Linked DNA regions of Homo sapiens: region 1 is linked to region 2. The links are contacts of gene promoters, found by promoter capture Hi-C in human tissues and cell types (Jung and others, 2019). All regions are on one chromosome and are shown on one strand. Each heading gives the region's core, a stretch centred on a gene start or on the middle of the fragment in contact. The rest is flanking DNA. Distances are from core to core; before and after follow the strand shown.

What was found. The method cuts DNA at HindIII sites, captures the fragments that hold promoters and counts their contacts. A contact is called where the count stands out against the background at its distance.
Region 1: a contact is called between a fragment that was not itself captured here and the fragment with the promoter of NLRX1 in region 2, in 1 of the 25 tissues and cell types used here (liver).

Annotation. Positions count from the first base shown.
Region 1 is chr11:118,906,859-118,909,639 of GRCh38, forward strand. BCL9L (BCL9 like) reads right to left here. Exons shown (of 10, transcript NM_001378213.1): 4 at 1,412-1,797; 5 at 625-744. Among named protein-coding and RNA genes, the nearest start is that of MIR4492, 2.5 kb to the right of the region's middle. RefSeq lists enhancers at 605-674, 2,403-2,781. The HindIII fragment of the contact is 6,400 bases long and covers 1-2,781 here.
Region 2 is chr11:119,167,286-119,170,001 of GRCh38, forward strand. NLRX1 (NLR family member X1) reads left to right here and starts at 1,440. Exons shown (of 10, transcript NM_001282144.2): 1 at 1,440-2,017. RefSeq lists a silencer at 1,349-1,958 and enhancers at 1,530-2,235, 2,236-2,716. The HindIII fragment of the contact is 23,273 bases long and covers 1-2,716 here.

The sequences.
Region 1 (2,781 bases), core at 41-2,540, 260 kb before region 2:
ATGTAAACGTAAACTTTGAGGGAAAAAAAATATGTACAAGCTTCCCAGGGGCAGGGGTTACATCTGGCTCTCCCCCATCACTCATGGAAGGACAAGATATAGGCGAATCCATAAAAGAATCAGAGGAGGAGTGGGCATCCCTCCACACCCACTTCTTGTCCTGGTGACACACCCTGGGTACTTGCCAGGAGTCAATTAGAGGTTAGGGAAGGGCACTAGAGACACGGCCAAGTGGCAACTCACACCCAGGCTTAGCAGGGCTTTGCACAGCAGAGCCAACTGCCCGGCTCCCAGTGTCCCTGGACGCTTCACCGCCCTCCCTCCACTAACCAGTAGGTGGCAGCATAGGCCAGGAATTCACAGGTAGAGGTGCAGGTGACGTGACCAAGAAGGAGGCCACTCCACTCTGCCCCACCTAGGGTCCCTAGGGAGAGGGGGTCACTGAGCACCTGGAAGGCAGAGGCGAGGCAGTTGCAGTGTAGGGAGGGACAGAGTCTGAGAGGTAGGATGGGAGAGAAAAATCCAGGACTCCCAGTCCTCACTTCTTTCCCAGGCTCAGTCCTCTCAAGTCCATCCCCCAGGAACATCACGGGCTACAGCACCCTGGCATCGACAGGCACTCACTGTGGGTGGCCCCAATGGGCTTGTCGTCCTCCTCACTGTCCGGTCCAGAGCACCATTCGTCCCCACTGTACGGCTGCTTCCGCTCCAGCACACAGCGCCGCTTACTCCGCGGCGCCACCTCTGCCCAGGCAGGACGGAGGAAAGAGTGAGTGCCTAGAGGCCCCATTATTCTCCCACACCCAGGGTCCCTCCCAGATCCATTCTCTAAGATGCCCCACCCTAGAGGGCACTGCCCAGGCCATGGTGGGCACTTCGCCAGCCCGTGGCCCCCACCACGCCACCATTTGTTTCTGATTTCTCTCTATAGCCCCATGCCTGTCTCCCCTCCCCCCCAACACCAAGTACAGCATAATCCCCAACCACAACTGGTTCTAATTAGGGCTGGAGGGGAGGGGGAGCTGCTGCTACTCTTCCAGGCCCCAGTGCCTGCTCCCAAAGGGCTCCCACCAGCCGGGATACGGAGGCTCCTGGAAGTGTGTGGGTCTGGGGTCTGCTCCTCACTCCATGGCACCTCCCTCTCCCCTTCTGGAGCTCTGGTGGGAAAGCAGGAGGGGAAGGAGTCCAGAAGTCCGACCACTCTGTGTGGCCCCTCCATGGGTGGCATCATGGCCAACCCCAATCCCGAATGATCTGGTTGGTGGGTGTTGAAAGGTACCCATGCAGAAATACTGGAGAAGAACGTGGGATGAGGACTGGACAAGCAGGGAGCAGAGAGGTGATCTCCCAGAACATCTGAGCCTTGGACTATGGGAGATGCTAGGGTCTTAGGGATGAGGAAATGGGGTACCTTTGGCCTCTGAATCCAGGGATGGGGTCCCAGCCTCTCGCTGCTCTCCAGAGTCCACAGACACACTCCGGTCCCTCTTCACCTTGCCCTTGAGCGAGCTGAAAGGGGGCACCCCTGCCTGGGGGTTCTTCAGACTTGAGTTGCTAGGCGAGATCTGGTTGGCCTTGGCCCCATGGTTCCCCGCCCCCACGCCCTTCGAGCCCACGTTGCAGGTGGGTCCTTGGTTCACATTCTGGTGCTGAGATTGGGCCCCGCCATTCCCTGTCTTGCCATGATTGGTCAATTTATTTTCTGGGTGCATTGGCTTGGCTGGGGCAGGGGGGCAATGACCGCGGGGGGACAGCGGCGGGCTCCCTGGAGCTTCTCTCCTCCTGGGGTGGGGTAACCTGGGAGGAGGTGGGAGAAATGTGAAAAGTTAACCTTGCTAGGGGCTAGGCATGCCTGCAACTTAATTACCCCATCCTGCCTCCCCTAACAATGGGGGAGGGTGGGGGGAAGGGGTGGTATCTCAAGACCACCACCAGCTATTCTCTACCTCCCTCCATGGCTTCCTCAGACAAGGGCTGAAGCCCTCATCCACCTTGGGGAGTGGAGATGGGGAAACCCTCCACCCCCTAGCCTCCACAATTTGAATGGAAACCAGGGCCTAGAGTTGGCAGAATTCACCCACCTCAGCCCCAAAACACCCATCAGCCTGCAAGCTTCTGTGGCAACCCTGTCCTCTGTATCAGACTTAAGCATCCTCTCTTCTAAGATCTGCTGTCTTCAGACTCCTTCCAAGGTCTCAAACCTCAACTCCCATATGTCCCAACACCAGCAGAGAAGGGCCACAGGACCTGGGGTCACTGCACATGCCCGGGTCTCATTCCCCAGGGACAGTGGGAAAACGCACACCAGGGAGTGCTACCCACTGGTCCAGACAGCTGGAGGGGAAGGCCTGAGGAGGGGGGCTTGGCAGGCCAGGCCGGCAGGCAGAAGCAGGAGGAAAGGGGGAGGGGAGCGGTGTGTCAAGCAGATGGGGAGTGTAGCTTGAAGCCAAGGATTCCTGCAGCCTAGGCTGCGGGCCCTTTAAGCTCCAGCCCGCTCCCCCCGCCGCCTCCCCCTCCCCGGAGACCTATTAATAGCCGCTGGAAAGATCACATCACGGGAGAGGATATTTATCCCCCCTCATTCCACACCAGCTCAGATTTATTTCAGCTCTGCTGTCCTGCTGCTGCCGCCTGGCCCTGTCTGCCGGCTTCTCCGGGGAGGGGGGAGGGAGGCAGGCACCGCCCCCTACTCCAGCTCCCACCTCCAGCTAGACTGAGGCCAGAGGCGGCCTTCGGACCCCACAGTAGGGTGGGAGGGGGTCTGCTCAAACCATTTTAAGG
Region 2 (2,716 bases), core at 190-2,689:
GATTCTCCTGCCTAAGCCTCCTGTGTAGCTGGGACTGCAGGCATGCACCACCCAGCCCGGCTAATTTTTGTATTTTTAGTAGAGATGAGGTTTCACCACGTTGCCTAGGTTGGTCGTGAACTTCTGAGCTCAGGCAATCCGCCTGCCTTGGCCTCCCAAAGTGCTAGGATTACAGGCATGAGCCACCATGCCTGGCCAATTTTTGTTATTTTTAGTAGAGACGGGGGTTTCACCATGTTGGCCATGGTGACGAGTTTGAGCTGGTCCCAAACTCCTGGCCTCAGGAGATCTGCCCTCACCCCCAGCCTTCCAAAGTGCTGAGATTACAGGTGTGAGCCACCGCGGCTGGTCCTCTGATTTATTTTTTCAGATCCAGTACAAATGTTACCTCCTCTGCACTCCCTTTTCCAGACTCTCCTAATGCCTTGCCTCTGCCACTGAAGTACATCATTTGTTTGTCTGTTTTTTATATTTTTATTTTCTATTTTCATTTTAAATAGAGACAGGGTCTCACTATGTCACCCAGGCTGGTCTCAAACTCCTGGTCTCAAGTGATCCTCCTGCCTCGGCCTTGAAGTACATCATTTGTAAATGTGGTAGTTGATTCCATTAAAGTGAGGTGCCTGCCTTGCTGTGGTTGGCAGCCCAGGGCCTAGTGCTGGACCTGGCTTGTGGGGGTGAGGTGCTCAGTGCTACCCAATACCACAGTACAACGAATGAACAAATGTCTAAATGAAACATCCACATTGTTTTCAGTAAGTCCTCTTCCCAGCCCTGCCCTGGAGAGCCTCTCTGTGGGTGCCCTAGTGCACAGCTCTGTTGTGTGAACATCGTACACTCATGCTTGCATACGAAGGCGTGCCCTGGCTGTGGGTGGTGGGTGGCTCCTCCTTCTGGGCTACGTGAGCCCAGGGTGTGGAAGTGTGTGGAAGTGTAGGGATAAGGGTGGGGGCTTTGGGAACTGGGAAGCCCCAGGGCTAGGCCATGAATGGGTGTCAGACCCGAAGAGCAGGTTGGGGTGCAAGTTGTCCTTCAGCCCCCATTCTTCCTTCTTTCTTAACCAAGGTTACCAGCAGCCACACACATAGGTCTGGGCTCTGAAGAGGACCGGATACATAAGGCAGAACCCAAGGAAGCCTTAGGCTCAGGTCTCTGCCTGAAGGTAGGCTGGGGAGGCGGAGAGGGACAGAGGGAAGAATCCCCTGGACACCGCGCCTCAGGGAGGCCCAGGGGTAAGGTAGGAAGACTCAGGCCCGGGATGTTGTTCTGGCTCATCCACTTCCTAACTGAATCAACCTGCACAAGTCATTTCACCCTTCTGAGCATCAGTTTCTTCATCTGTAAAATGGGCCTAACAAGCAGCCCAGCCTGGGAGGTGGTTAGTGAGGTCACTGGGTGTCACTGGCGCTTGGGAACCTGCAGAGGGCAGTACTAGCGGCAGTGCCCGCGGGGATGGAGGCAGGGAGGGGGGACGATGGCGGGACGGGTGGCGCCGGGGTTCCAGCCCTGCGCCTGCTCCGGAGCACCGGGCCCCTCTCGCTGACCCCCTCGTCCCAGGACCCCGCAGGCCCGAGTGCCTGGGCTCGTCCTCTTTCGCGCCCGCTGCCAGGTGCCAGGGCCGCGCAGGCGGGCGGAGGTGGGCAGGAAGCGCCACGCCGAGGAGCCGGGGACTCTGGGAGCTAGCGGGAGACGCCGGCGTCCGCCCAGCCGACCCCTCTGGGCCGCGGCCGACGGCTCCCGGAACTGGGCAGCCGCGGGTAAAGGCCTAGCGGGCTTGATAACCCCTGCGCCCTGGCTGGGAGGCCGCGCTGAGCGGGGGGCAGGGCGGGCCGGGGGAGGAGGCTGTGCAAGGGCCGCGGGGAGATCCCGGCCGAGAACGAGAGGGACGGAGCTGGGCGCTGAATGGCGGGCGTTCTGGCAAGTCTCCCCCTGCGTTCCCGAGGCCACCCGAAAGTAGGAGAGCTGTTTGGGACCCAGTTTGGTGGAGGAGCTCTGGACCTGTAGGAACACCGCCCCTGTACGTTTCCTGCAGTGCCCCCTCCTTTTCTCATTGCCCTGGAGACCTGGGTGATCACCGGAGAACTGCCCTCGGCCCCGCAAGTCCCGTCTTGACTCAGTGGCCCTAGATCCGAGGTTAAACCGGAACCTAGGCTTTCTCAGGCTTCTGGAGCCCTCTCTTAACCCTTCCGCAGCCCCTGGGACGGGCCAGCACCCAGCCAGCTCCTCCGCTGGTTGGCCCTGCTAAGGCAGGTGGCCCAATGCAGCCAGTTCTCCTTAAGCGTACCCTGCCCAAGAAGCCCCGATCTCAGTGGAGGAGACCAGGTGCCAAATAGGGGCACATTCCATTTAAGTGAGTTCAGAGGCCTCAGAAAAGACTTCCCAGGGACGGAGACTTTTGAGCAGGATCTTAAAAGATTGGTTGGGGCCCGAGTGGTGGCTCGCGCCTGCAGTCCCCGCACTTTGGGAGGGCAAGGCGGGCGGATCACTTGAGCCCAGGAGTTCGAGACCACCCTGGGCAACAATGGTGAAAACCCCGTCTCTACAAAAACCAAAGCCAAAAATTAGCCAGGTGTGGTGGCACACCACTTTAGTCCTAGCTACTCAGGAGGCTGAAGCAGGAGGATGGCTTGAGCCCAGGAGGTAGAGGTTGCTGTGAGCTGAGATCGTACTACTGCACTCCAGCCTGGGCAACAGAGCGAGAGACCCTGTCTCAGGA